2 separate regions of the Homo sapiens genome follow, and region 2 is linked to region 1. Evidence: promoter capture Hi-C in 16 types of primary human blood cells and fetal thymus (Javierre and others, 2016). All regions are on one chromosome and are shown on one strand. The core of a region is centred on a gene start or on the middle of the fragment in contact, and the rest is flanking DNA. Distances in the headings are between cores, read along the strand shown.

Region 1 (7,143 bases), core at 2,303-4,802:
GTCATAGTGAGAACACTGAGATTTGCATATGTTTTTCTACTTTCCCATCCATCTAGACCCTGAAATCTAAATAAATATTTCAGTTAAAACTTTTTTTCCATTTGCATGAAGTCTGGGTCACTATATCTCCTACCCTGAATGGGGGAAGATGGGACAGCTATATCTCATACTGAAGCGGTGGCAGCTAAAACCTGGCAACTGCTGCCAGTGTCCCCAATGTGTCTTGCTTATTATTTTTTAAAATGTGACAAAGACAAAAGCTACAGCTGGAAACTCACACAATTTAGAAATATGTTGAAAACTTTTATTATAGTCCTTAGGATTTCCAAGTAAATGCTCCCAAATCAAGTATTACAAAGCTGCTAATTAATTAGCAACTGAAAATTAGCCATTCAAATTATATTGGAAATATTTGCTGAATTGTTTTTATGAAAGCTTCCTCTTGGATTCTGTAAGGATCAGAGTATCTGAATCCACAAACCAGCTAGTTTCAAGAAAGAATTCTTTTGACTAAAACTTACCTTAAAACCAATTTTCCCAACTCTTTTCCTTTTCCCAAATAGTCCAACGTTTTGAGGAGAAATATATGAGGCAGGTTGTTTTATACGGCACTGTACCCTTTAGGAAACCTAACATTTCAGTGAACTGGGAAACTTCACAACATAAACTCTATGTATTTATAGATATTATGACTGCTGTATAATATATACTGTGGGGAAAAAAAAAAAGAAGAAAGAAAAGACTAGCCTGGGCAACATGGCGAAACCCCATCTCTACAAAAAATACAAAAATTAGCTGGGTATGGTGGTGCCTGCCTGTGGTTCCTGCTACATGGGAGGCTGAGGTGGGAGGACTACCTGGGCCCGGGAGGTCAAGGCTGCAGTGAGTCGAGACTTTGCCACTGCACTCCAGCCTGTGCGACGGGGTGAGACCCTGTCTCAAAAAAAAAAAAGAAAAAAGAAAAGTTTTATCAAAGGATAAAACCGAAATGCTATAGTATATAGTGTGACCATAATTTCAGAAGAAGAGAATTAGCATAATTTAAAAGGATAGCTAGCATACTATACGTTTTAATAATTCCAGTATTTTTGTTACTTGGGCTTAATTTAACTTATTTTCCTCTTTTTGATTTTTGTATTTTTAAGAGGGCACTTTTAATTTTCAAGTTGTGTTTGAAACTATAGAGTATGCTAATACAACTTAATATAAATATAAATAATATATAAGCTCTCTCTCTGCATATATACACATATAAACAGACCCAAGCATTAGACCACTGATGTTGTACTTTCAGGATTCACACGAATAAGTCTAGATGCATTCCTCAGATCTTGGAGTTGCTTGGCAGGTTTCCCCACACCTTCTTCAAACCTTTTCTCCACCACAGGGAGGACTGTTTCATATAAAAAGGATGCATTCTGTCTGATAAAAGCTTTCTTCTCTGGATCCTGCTCACATCGAAGACTATAATCCACATGCTGAACAGCAACCAAAATGATTTCCACCAGGCTCTCCAAAAGTACCATGTGCAGCTCTGGGAAATACAGCTTCAGGGCCTCTTCCAAGAAGCCCATGGTCTGTTTGGTGAAAGCAACCACTGTGTAACTTAGGTTCACCCAGCAGTCATCCCCTGTGTACTGCTCAAAGTTACTTACCCCACAACTTTTCATCTCTTCTTTGAGCTTACCCAGGGCTTCTGGCGTCATCAAGTTCATCCTCCTCCACATCTCTTCAGAGTTGCGATGTTTAGTGGCTTCAATGATGATTTCTTTGTAACTGTGCAAGGCCCCTTGGATGTCTTTCACCAGAAGGGCATGGATGATGAAGGTGAGATCCAGTCCGATATCACCCAGTTGCTGGCAATGCTCCTTAGCCACTTTTACACACTCAGCTGCTGTAGAGAGGCTCTCCTTACTATCAAACACCTGCTTGCTAAAAGCATCCACGAACATGCCCATGGCTGATCTTGCCCAGACCACAAAGGCAGAGTAGCAGCCGCTGTCAGTGCCTGCAAAATCGATCTCAAATTCTCTTGCAGTCTCGAGAAGGCTGGTAAAGAAGACATGGCACAGCTTATGAATATAGAGTAAAGTGGCACCTTCGATGCGAAGCTGACGAATTGCAGTATGAACAGCGGCTGCCCTGTTTCTCAAAAATAGCTCACAGGCCTTCGTGCACTGGCCCAGCCGGATCAGTTGCGAAACTGCTCTGCGAGTAGCCTTCGGACCACCTCTCAGGGAACGATCTGGGGAGAGTTCGAAAACTAGCACCTCAGTGAGCTGTCGAACTCGCTCCTCCACTTTGGCCCTTAGTTCTTTTACAGGAGGTGGGCTAGGTTTATCTTCCAGGTAATGGTTCAATTTATCCAGCAGGTCAACCGCCCCTTCAAAGTCTCTCTGCGCAATGCAGACATCCAGGTCTTCAGGTAACTCCTGGATCCATTCCATGGAGAGGTCCACCTTCTCTTCCTCTACCTCAGGAACAGCTGGTTCTTCTTCTTCGTCATCCTCAAATGGGTTAGTGGCCTTGGAAGTCACTTGGGGTGGCCCTCGAGGGGCCGCTGCCTCCTCCTGCTCCCTTCGCCTTTTCTCACTGAGGGCCCTCTTGGTGTCCTCCAGCACTTCCAGCCACTCTCGTTTGATTTTAGCATTTTCGGCCTGGAAAATACGGCTCTCGGGGAACATAAGCAGCTTGAACATGTCCTTCATGGGCGGGTTGTCCTTGACATTGACTACGGCCAAACCATCTAGGGAATAGAGAGCGTTGTAGCGATACATCCCACGCCGCTGAGGCAGCCAGGTAGCCACCAACAAGCAATCGTTCATGAGAAAGCCGTGCACCCGCTGCAGTTGGGCCATGTGGTCCGCATCGTATTCCACTAGGTCCCCATTGTACACCAAGTACTGTCCCGGCGTCTCCAGCAGATGCCTGCAGCCTTCCACCTTCTCAAGCAGGGTGGTGAGAGTGCGCTGCTTTCCTTCCTCGCCTGGACCGGAGCCGTCGCGGGAGGCACCCCCGGGGGTGGAGAAAAAGCCGGCCTGGCCTCGGAGGTGGTCTCGGCCCCCCGCCCCACCGACTCCCTCCTCCCCTCCAGAGGCGGCGGCGGCTCCGGCGGCAGCAGCGGCAGGCAGCAACGTAAGCGGGATGCTCTCCAGGCTGCTTTTCTGCTCGGTCAGCAAATGGCTGAGCTGGTACATCTCGCTCTCCAGGTAGGAGATCTCGCGGGCCGTCTCTATGAACTGCCGGTAGTTCTGGTAGACGTTGCGCTTCAGGTTCTGCGCCGTCTCCTCCGCCAGCGCCTGGATGCGCTGCCGGTGCTCCTGGAGGTCCCGGTCCCCATCCGACTGCTGCGAGAGCTGCTTCACGTACAGCCGCGCCTCAAAACCCCCTGACTCCAGCTGCCGACGCAGGCGGCTCGCCCCACTGTCCGACATCGCCATCGCCATTTCTCTCCGGGTCTCACGCACTCACTGTCACTATCGGCGCCGCAGCCGCCGCGGCTGTCTAGACCCACCCAAGGCCAACCGAGCTCCTGGGCTGAGGAAGCAGGAATGGGAACGAGACGAGTACGCCTGCGCCGGGTCTGAGCGTCAGACACTGCGCCTGCGCAAGTGGGCCGAGCGCAGACATTGCGCCTGCGCAGCAATGCCATCGGTTAAAGCGCATGCGCAAGATGAGCTATTGCGGAAGTGAGGGGAGGGAGAGGCCGAGAGAAATTTCGGTACTGCGCATGAACCGAGCGTGACGTTGAGGTTTGAAATAACCGGCAAAGAGTAAAGGCTGAAACTAGCTTCCTGAAAGCTTCGTAGGGCCCGAGCCCTGTGAGCCCAGGTTCTGCGCCCACTAGGAGGTGTCATGCTGACTGCTTTTTTTAAAGCCCTAGAATCTTGGCTTCGGCGTTTGGGGTAAGCTCCGTTCTCGTTCTCAAGCGCGTTTCCGCGAACTCTCGCGGGATTGACGGGCCGTCTCGAGAGCCGGCATCTCCTAGGAGCTAGTCCTGGTCCTCGGCTAGGCGGCTTGGGGTCGCGGCGTAACTGGGGAGCCAGCCTGACGCCGGCGGACCCCGCCTGTGATCCTGGCAACGATGGATGATGACTTGATGTTGGCACTGCGGCTTCAGGAGGAGTGGAACTTGCAGGAGGCGGAGCGCGATCATGCCCAGGAGTCCCTGTCGCTAGTGGACGCGTCGTGGGAGTTGGTGGACCCCACACCGGACTTGCAGGCACTGTTTGTTCAGTTTAACGACCAATTCTTCTGGGGCCAGCTGGAGGCCGTCGAGGTGAAGTGGAGCGTGCGAATGACCCTGTGAGTTCCGAGCCCCGCTGGGGAAAGAGGCGGGACTGGCAGCTTTCCTGCAGCCCCCGGCCCTGGTTTTCTCTCCTTTCTCTAGTCCGACGGTCCCAGGGGGCGTTAAATGAGGGGAGTCTGGTTTTGGACCTGGCAATTCCTGCCTCGGCGTGTTTCTGTCTTCCTTACCTTTTCTCCCACTCGAACAATAAGAAAGCTGTGTAGACCACACCGCCACGGTTGGACTCAGGGCCGTAACAAAAAAGAGATTTTTATTTGAATCTCACTTCACTTGAAAATAACAAGTTCCTGATTTGCCTTATGATAGTGCTGTAGGACCCAGAAGGGAGAAGCAACCAAATCTGCACCTAAGAAAGTGCTGAGGACGCAGAGTAACTGCCAAAGGATGTGTGTTCTCCTCCTCTATTCCCGTTAGGAAACCCACTTTAGTTAGCTCGTGTGTTGCATTGGGGATCTTCAGTGATGCTTTTAAAACGATTCTTTTTCTACACGCTAAATTTCAGAAATCCCTATTTGAAATAATAATCTACTCCTGCACGTGAACAGGGTTAAGTTTAAGATACAGTTGTATCCCAGCATGCTTGTTTTTGAGTTGATAGAAAACAACCTACTGTCAAACAAATTAAGATATGATATTAAATTGTGTTTAAAGTACCAATTTCCTTTATACAGGCGTCTGTTATGATTTTGGAGATATGCTACTGGAGATATCTGCTTGTTAATAACACCGAACTGTAACTTGTCGGAAGGAGACTGGGAGTAGCAGAATAGGATTGCCTTTGAGCTGTTGCAGCCTAGCTAGGGCAAGGGGAGCTGCAGTTGGGCCATGTGGTCCGCATCGTATTCCACTAGGTCCCCGTTGTACACCAGGTACGGTCCTGGCGTCTCTAGCAGGTGCCTGCAGCCTTCCACCTTCTCAAGCAGGGTGGTGAGAGCACGCTGCTTTCCTTCCTTGCCCGGCGGGGATCGGAGCCATCGCGGGAGGCGCCCGCGGGGGTTGTAACTAATTAATTAGGTGAAATGCAAGTATCTGCTAACCAAGGGGGGTATACTTTCATGAAAGCCATCTGCCAACTGAGTTAGTGTGAACTGCCCAAGAATGTGTAAGGACTTGGGCATATTTGGCCAATGTAACACATTTTTATGGTGATTGTTTTCTAGGTGTGCTGGGATATGCAGCTATGAAGGGAAGGGTGGAATGTGTTCCATCCGTCTCAGCGAACCCCTTTTGAAGTTGAGGCCAAGAAAGGATCTTGTAGAGGTATTTTTCGTGTAAACTTGCTTCCTAGCGCAGTAATTTACAAATACTTGTCAATGATTTAGACTGCTGTGAATTCGCCTGTATGTATCGTTAAAAAAAGTCACTTTGCCCTCAGTGAAAGCTTGAATTATGGGGCAAACAATAATGAACACCTTATGTTTTTTATAGTGCTTCATAGTAAAAAAAAAAAAAACAAAAAAAAGGCTTCTAGGGGCCGGGCACGCTGGCTCACGCCTGTAATCCCGACACTTTGGGAGGCCGAGGCGGGCGGATCACGAGGTCAGAAGATCAAAAACATCCTAGCCAACACGGTGAAACCCCGTCTCTACAAAAAAAAAAATACAGAAAATTAGCCGGGCGTGGTGGCCGGCGCCTGTAGTCCCAGCTACTCGGGAGGCTGAGGCAGGAGAATGGCATGAACTGAGGAGGCGGAGCTTGCAATGAGCCGAGATCGCGCCACTGCACTCCAGCCTGGGTGACAGAGCAAGACTCTGTCTCAAAAAAATAAAAGCCTTCTAGGTATATTATCTGTTTTGATTTTACAACAGCCCTGTTTATGTTCATGTGTTGCTGTTTTCATTTTTATGAGTAAAGAAATTAAGGTTCAGAGAGGTTAAGTAACTGGCTTAAGTTACTTATTTAGAAACAGAGAAAACAGGATCCACATGTTCCTGTTGAGAAACACAAATTTTGATTCTCCTCAGTTGGGCTGCAACACTGCTGTGCTCTCAGGACACCTAGCTGAGCTGGCAGCACAAACCAGTGTGAGGGCACGCTTCACATTTAGAGCTGGTACTTACTTCTGCTAGCAGAATGGAGCAGTGGGAGCTGAGGCAGGAGGATCTCTTGAACCCGGGAGGCGGAGGTTGCAGTGAGCCGAGACCGTACCATTGCATTCCAGCCTGGGCAACAAGAGCGAAACTCTGTCTCAAAAAAAAAAAGAAAGAATTATCTGTACAAAAGAGCACAGTGGTAGTTTCTGAGCATGGGGTGGGAAGCATGTTAAAACATGCTTGGAGATGAGAGATGCTGTTTTTAAGGATAATAAAAGGCAATGGATTACATAACAGTGTGAATATACTCAACACTGAACTGTACACATAAAAATGGGTAAGTTGGGGAATTTTGTTAATTTTTTTTACCACAGTTTGTTTAAAAAGTAGCTACTAAATGTAAAGTGGTACAGTAGAAATACTTGATTAATGAAAAAGAACAGAGCTCAGATGATAAAGAGAAAGGTAGGTGTAAACAAAATATCAGTTAAATGTAAGTGGACTAAACACTCCATTAAATACATGGAATGGCATGCTAGATTAAAAGAGACATGCTTACAGTAAAGACACACTTATTTTAAGTTTAAAAGGATGAGGAAAAGTAATCATCCAAACACTTAAAAGCAGAAAACTATTGTGGCTATAAGGTTGAGTACTCATTATCCAAAGTGGGACCAGAAGTGTTTCAGATTTTTTTTTTTTTTACTTTGGAATATTTGCATTATACTTACTGGTTGAGCTTCCCTAATCCAAAAGTCCCAAATCTGAAATGGCTTTAGTGAGCATTTCCTTAGAACTTAA
Region 2 (7,143 bases), core at 4,644-7,143, 1.6 Mb after region 1:
CACTCTAGTGACCTGATTACCTAATTGCTTCTTTAAGGCCCCACACTTTAATACCTTCACCTTGTGGGTTAGGATTTCAACAATATGAATTTTGGGGGGACACAAACATCCGTCCATTGGATGTTGATTAGATAGGAAGCAAAAGTTGGATTCAGTATGGTACAGTACTTTAAGATCCCATTTATTTTAAAATTTGTTTCAATTTATGCCATCTTCTTTTGTTGTTAATCTCTAAGAGATATAAGCTATTTAATTTTTTGTTATTGTTACCTAATAACACATACAGGAAACTGTAGAAATTAAGCATCAAATCAATGAATTTTCTAACAAGAAGATATCCGTGGAACTACCATCCAAATAATTCATTTTCCATGGATAAAGTACATTCAACTATGGAGTCTTTTTTTCTGTTTTGTGAGACGTTGATTCACCATATCTGAATTCCATGTATCTTTGAGCTACTTAAACTGATGCCAGAATTCCAGGCACAGCAACAAAACAAAAGAACCCAACTTCCGGTGAGCCTTGCAAATCCAAACTGCTTTTCAGTGATGGAAAATGCTATCTGATTAACATTTAAAACGAGTACTTTTGATACAAGAGATACATATACTTTTTTCCTTTTTTTTGGAAGCTCCTCCTATGAATTTACTTTACTATATCAACTTTTCACTGTATTCAACATATATGGACTGCAAAATAAATCAAGGTGGAAGGCCCTACATTAACAGTTGGGATAATAAATAGTATACTGTTATAATAATAGAGCATTACAAATGTTGCAGAAATGATGGTGATGACAGCTATATTTTACAAATCCAACTTTGTTTTTTTAGATAATCATTGGACTGGCATATGTCTCAGGCTAAAGGGAAACCAAGAGGTCCATGTGTGGGCAGAAACCAATTAAGTTGAGCACTCACTGAACTGCTTTCTCAGCCAGGATGGGGAACGACTGACTACAAATTAAGCTGTACACATGTTAGACTGAAAGAGTTTACAGGTAAATGTGGCCCAAGGCCACTGCCACGTCATTCGTTGGCCGGAACACTTGCAGTGGTAAAGTGAGACGGAGAAGCTATTTAATTCTTTGCAAGAGGAGATCTTTATACACTTTGGTGTGAAAGTAAAGAGGGAAAACTGGGCGTCCTATGCATGGCTGAGGACGGGAAGCCTGCCTACACCAGTGGTTCTCAACCCTAGCGCACTTCAGGAACTTCCTGGAGTTTAGAAAGAAGAAAAAAGAATACAGGTGCTCAAGACTCGCTCAAGACCAATTACTCATGTTAAACAAGATTTATGGGAGGCCATTGTTTTGGACTAACCTCCTGCACTAGGTCCTAGCAGACTAGACCAAACCAGAATGGAGTCACTTGTGCCAAGTGCCATGTAACCAAACTGAACTTTGAAACAGGCCCGTTTTCCCAAAAAACAGGAGATTGTAGTTAACCTGAGTCAGTACAATAACGAAGTCCAATCTGTTTTAACCCTATAAGGAAAGTAACTTTGAAATACCCACTCTTTGTTTTGTTCTTCAGCCTTTTTTTGCCCATAAAGCCAACCTCCTCTGCACAACTCATTGGAACACTCTATTTGCTTTATGAAATGATCTATTTCTCGATTCTAGATCCTAAATATAAGCCAATTAGATCTTTAAACTAAACTTGTAATTTTGTCTTCTGACACTCCCTATTACTGCAGGTGAAACCCAGGCATCAGAGCAAGTTTAAAACTCCCCAGCTGATTCTATTCTGCAGGAATGTTTGAGAACAAAGTTGGAGTCATTAACATGGCATCCCCCTTTGAGGAATGCTTCCAGGTCACAAACCTTCTACAAAAGGGCTGTCCCGGCAGCCTTGGGCAATTTCAGCTCCTAGGTCCGGAGTCAAGGGGCAGAACTTGGGTGATGGCGCTGACTTGAAGCAGCAATAGTTTAATAACTGACGTTCTCACGCACTTATCTCTGCAAATACCCCACAAAAGCCCTGAACCCAGAATGAAACTTAAGAGACCGTACAACCCGCTCCGCCTATAGGAACTGCCGCGGCACAGGCGCCAATGCCGAGGGCTGAATGCGCAGGCGCGGACCGGGGACTCGGGAGAAGGCGCATGCGTGGTCTTGAGGGCGGTGCTTCCGGTCAAAGCACCGCTTGGGGGCGGGGCCTGCGACACGCGGTGGGCGGGTCCTGAGTCGCGACCCTGGTCCGGACCTGACCTGAATTGCGACCCCAACCTGGACTGCTCCCCTGACCGCAACCCCTACCCCCGCCCACCAGTATGGCCCGGCACGTGTTCCTAACGGGGCCCCCAGGTAACCCTGAGGGGATCCCCACCTCCAAGAGGTCGAGGGGGTGGGGGCGCGCGGGCTGCGGGCGACCTTGTGCTGTCGGGGAGGGTCTCCGGCTCCAGGGCTCCGGCCTCTGAAGTTCCCAATTTAAATGGCGGGCTTGGTAGTCTGAAGAGTTTGTACTCCTTCCCGGAAAACGTGATTTAAAAGACACAGGGCCTAAAGGATTAGAACACACTTGTGAGGGGGTCCTAGACTGGCTTCTTGATGAAGGGCAGAAACCGCAGGGGCCAGCGGCAGCGGTAACTCCTACTGTAGTGTTGACGTTGTGGTCTGCACAAATGGTATTTCAAGAGATCTGCGGCAACCGCGATGTGAAGTGGAGATGTCTAATTTCTGTTGATAGTCACAGGTATTTCCTTACTGTGGGTCTTTGCTACATTGATCGTGCAAAAAAAAAATGGTAAATTTTAGTTGGAGGACAGCGAAACTGAAGTTGTAACCTTTCTTTCCCATCTAAGTTCATCCCCCCACCCCCATCCCCATCTCCATCCCCACGAATTCCCTCCACAGCTGAGGCCAGAGGTGGAGAAGCTTTGGTACCTACAGGAGCCCTTCTCAGACACTCTTGCTTGTTCCTGTCGCTGTCCCCTCCTGATGTCTGTCAGATCCCTCAACCCTGTGGCCTGTGGAGTTCTCATCTGAGAAGCAGGATAGCGTTGAGGTCAGATGAGAGGTGTAGGAGGAGGTGCTTTTAAACCAAGGCGCTACCCATGTATCAAGCATTACTAAAAAGGACAGGTAGGCTGCATCAGATAGGCTAAAAAAAGATAGATGGGCTAAGAGTGGAGAAAGTGATTTCTTCAGCTCCTTTGCAAGGCAAATCTAATTTTGAAGTTTAGTGTGGGTTCAGATATCAAAGGCTGTAACCCTGGATCTAGAATTCTCTTTCACTTTATTTTAATGATTATGTTTAGTTGTAAGTAGCAAAGGCTACAGCTAATATTGCAGACTTTGGGATTTTGTCAGGCATTGGATGGGGGAGTTGGGGAGCAGGGGGTGAGGAGGAGGAGGGTGGTTTGAGAAATGCCTGCTATCTAAAGTCACTCCTAAGTATTGCAAAGAACTGTTTTCTGAAAGTTGGTTTGTCAATCCTTTATTTGAAACTTGGAATGCAGTTTGATACTCAGCAGGCTGACCCCAAGACAACTGTGTGTTTTATTAATGGAGGTGTCCTGTTACCGTGATTGTATTGATGGTGGTTCTTGTTTCTGCTTTATCAAAGTCTTACCTACACGTAGTTGAAAGACTCAAATAATTCTACAGTGTAGCTCTCTTAAACCTGTCCTCAAACCCACGCACCTTTGTCTTTTCTCCTTCTCTTCTTAATGTAGTTACAGCGTAATTTTCATTAGTCAATGTTTACAGTATTATGGCCATGTAAAGACAATCACAACAGAGCCACATAGTAATCTATGATTTCTTTTCCATTTATTTATTTATTTTAGAGACAGGATCTTGCTTTGTCACCCAGGCTGGAGTGCAGTGAAACAGTTATAGCTCACTGCATTCTCAAACTCCTGGGCTTAAGTGATCCTCCCACTTCAACCTCCTGAATAGCTGGATCTACAAGCGCATGCCACCACACCCGGGTATTTTTTTTTTTTTGTAGAGACCTGTCTCTTGTTATGTTGCCCAGGCTGATCTCCAACTCCTAGCCTCAAGTGATCCTCCCATCTGGGCCTCCCAAAATACTGGGATTATAAGTGTGAGCCACCTTACCCATCTTTTTTTTCCCTCTTCTTATTGAGACAGGGCCTCTCTCTGTTGCCCAGGTTGGAGTGCAGTGGCACAATCTTGGCTCACTGCAACCTCCACCTTCCAGGCTCAAACCATCTTCCCACCTCAGCCTCCCTAGTAGCTAGTACTACAGGCATGCACCACCATGCCCTCTAATTTTTTTTTTTTCCTTTTACACATAACTTTTTTCCCCATTAGGAGTTATTGTCAGGTGTTTTTATTTGCCTAGTTTCTTTCTGTTTTCTCAATATGTTCAGACCATCAGGTAAAGTCTCCTCTCAAAGAGGTCACTTTTTGTTGCATATCCTCTTAGTGCCCCTGGCACTTAGCATTTTTTCCGATTTCCAACTGTCTGTACCCATGACTCATCTTGGAGGGCTTTCTCTGGTCCCTGGAGCCCACTTGGCCTGCAAACAGAGCAGGCCAGAAGAGCCAGGGAATTCCTGTGCCCTGGGATTAGCCTTCAACCTGTGATTGGTGAAAGTTAGTTGATAAATTCCCTACTTTCTCACTCCTCAGACAGGATAACTGAGCCACTTGCCCTGACTTGTCCCTTAGGATTCCCCAGGGGGTTGAAGCTCCAGCTGCCCCCAGTGGAACTTGCTTGACAGTGCACCTCATGCTGGTGTCCTTCCCTTCCCTTTCTGAATTTCTTCCCTGCCAGTCCATCATGTTGTCACTGCCCAGGTTAAACTACCTGCACTTGAATCTTTATCTGAGGATCTGCTTAGGGGAGAACCAGAACCAAAATAATTCCAGAGCTTTCTGATCTGTTTGTGCCTGGTATACAGCTATCATCTCGAGGTCTCCTGAAGCAGAGGTCATTTCTTATCCAGACAGCATTGGGGTAGCAGCTTAACTAATGAAGAAAAAATTAACTGAAAGAAGATTCCTAGAGCTGAAGAAGCCAAAAGGGACTTTGCCCAAATGCTTCCTATTTATTGCTCTACTATGTTCTACACAACATACAGTCCCCACAGTATACCCTTTGTGAACAGGAATAGTTACCGTTGCTCCATTTTATCTTTTTCAAAATATAAACGGCAATTTTTGTTAGGATAAGAGTAAGACCCATTCAGTATAAGAATTAAAAAAAACAAGAAAAGTTTAAGGAAGAAAGTGACAATCACAGGGAATTTGAACATCAGAAATCAACATTGTAAATCTTTGTTCTGTATTCTTCTTGACATTTTTTTTTTCTGTAGACACGTACTTGACCATTCTTTAAAAAAAACATAATGGAATGGTTTCTGCTATTAACCTGCTTTTTCCATATATTATTTTCATACATTGTGGTCTATTTTCCATGCTAATAAATACATATAAGCAGTATATTTTTTAATGGTTGCATGGTATTTCTGTGTATTTATGTGCTATTATATACATGGTGCCATGAGTTAACATTCCCTTACAATCAACATTTAGGTTGTTTTCAGTGTTTTGCTATTATAAAGAATGTTGCAGTGAATGTCCTCTTTCACACATTTGTATTGTTGATGTTTCCTGAGGATGAATTCCTAGTCATGAACTACAGGGTGCTGTGGCAGGCGCATTGAAATTGCCCTTCAGAAAAGAAGTAGCAGCTTACACATTCGGCAATGCCATTACTTGCATGAAACAGATTCTTTAGTGACTTTCCTAAAGCAGTTGTTACTGATGGCCAGGGCTGGATTAGAATGTCATCATTTTATGTTCTACACAGTTCTACCAGCTGCATGCTCACTGTGGCTTACTGTAGCCAGAATCCTGTTGTGTTGCTGTTCATGTTCCAGAAAGCCAGGTGCCATTATTTTAATGTGAAGTGTGAAGATAGATACATTAAATAAGAATAATGGATCATATTTTATGTCAAGGAGGCTTAAAAGAGTGGGTAGTCTTAGAAATAGCATGATTTGCAACTCTGTAGTATCTCAAAATAGCTCACTTGCAGACATGCTAGGAGTTTTCTCTCTCTTTCCATTGTTGGGTAGTCATGATGCCACTTACTTAAATCCATATTGGGAACAAGGCTCATATTTTAAAAAGTCATGGTGACAGGTAAAGTCCCCTGTTGAAAGGTATGGACCTTATGAGGGGTATAGCCTTGGGTAAAATACCTAACCACCATGTACCTCAGTTTCTCCATCTGTAAAATATGCATAAGGATGGTAATTGCCTCAGAGGATGGTTGTGAGGACTTAACCAAGAAAATGCTTCCAAAGTGTGCTAGAACAGTGTCTGGCTCCATGACGTCAGTGATGAGTATTACTATATTAGGTAGCACCTGTTGGTGCTTACAAACCAGTGAGTTCATCAGAGTAGTCAGCTGACCAGGCTGGATGGACAGGAAGGATCAAGGTGGGGAGGCTGAGGGGGCAGAGGTACATAGGTTCAAACTGGGGAAGGTGTGGGGGATAAAGGTGAAGAAATGCTTAGAGACCCTGGAGAAGATGATGTTGGAAGGAGTTGCTAACCTGATAGGCTTGCTGTTATGAAAAAGTTTGAAAGTGACCATTAACAGGGATGCTAATGATATTTAAGAGACACATTTTCAGGAGTTACAACAATGTAAGTCAAAGGAGGAACAAAGTGATTTTCCCACTGTTAAGTGTAGGTCCGTTTGTAATCTCTTGAAAGCTGAAATCTTAAATTCCCAGCCCCTGACTCAAGTGTGACCAGTGTTACTTCCTGGGCAGAAAAATGGGAACTGTAAACCATTTCACAGGATGCAAATGGCATGGGAGAATATCATCAGGAACCTCTCAGTTGATTCTGGGATTGTGTACGTGACAAAATTAACAATGTTTCACAATTTAAAAATAAACCTCAAGATATCATTCGTGTTTTTATTATGCTTGTTTCTACTTGAAATTAAGCATTTTTAGCACCTGGAGCAATCAAAATTAAATTGAAGTTCATATTCATAAATCCATTTACAGCCCATTTCTCTACCCACCATAATTGCTGCCTCAGAGTCCACAAGTGCTGTGTGTGCTCTAGTAAGGGAATGTTTCCTAATGGGCTTTTCTTCTTTTTTTTTTTTTTTTTTTATTTTAGGAGTTGGAAAAACAACATTG

Evidence for each region. The method cuts DNA at HindIII sites, captures the fragments that hold promoters and counts their contacts. A CHiCAGO score of 5 or more calls a contact.
Region 2: a contact is called between a fragment that was not itself captured here and the fragment with the promoter of EXOC8 in region 1, in 1 of 17 cell types (fetal thymus). The highest score is 6.0, in fetal thymus.

What each region holds. Positions count from the first base shown.
Region 1 is chr1:231,334,300-231,341,442 of GRCh38, forward strand. It overlaps EXOC8 (exocyst complex component 8), which reads right to left and starts at 3,553. Exons shown (of 1, transcript NM_175876.5): 1 at 1-3,553. The coding sequence starts at 3,446. The coding sequence ends at 1,269. SPRTN (SprT-like N-terminal domain) reads left to right here and starts at 3,994. Exons shown (of 5, transcript NM_032018.7): 1 at 3,994-4,305; 2 at 5,470-5,569. The coding sequence starts at 4,085. RefSeq lists enhancers at 2,855-3,730, 3,278-3,327, 3,368-3,427, 3,731-4,605, 4,008-4,207 and 1 more and silencers at 2,988-3,157, 5,229-5,278. The HindIII fragment of the contact is 2,369 bases long and covers 1,431-3,799 here.
Region 2 is chr1:232,948,434-232,955,576 of GRCh38, forward strand. It overlaps NTPCR (nucleoside-triphosphatase, cancer-related), which reads left to right and starts at 2,178. Exons shown (of 5, transcript NM_032324.3): 1 at 2,178-2,311; 2 at 7,124-7,143. The coding sequence starts at 2,278. It overlaps LOC107985361 (a long non-coding RNA gene), which reads right to left and starts at 3,116. Exons shown (of 2, transcript XR_001738525.2): 1 at 2,895-3,116; 2 at 1-2,723. RefSeq lists enhancers at 1,900-1,999, 1,912-2,453, 2,454-2,993, 4,122-4,621, 4,557-4,766. The HindIII fragment of the contact is 6,029 bases long and covers 2,880-7,143 here.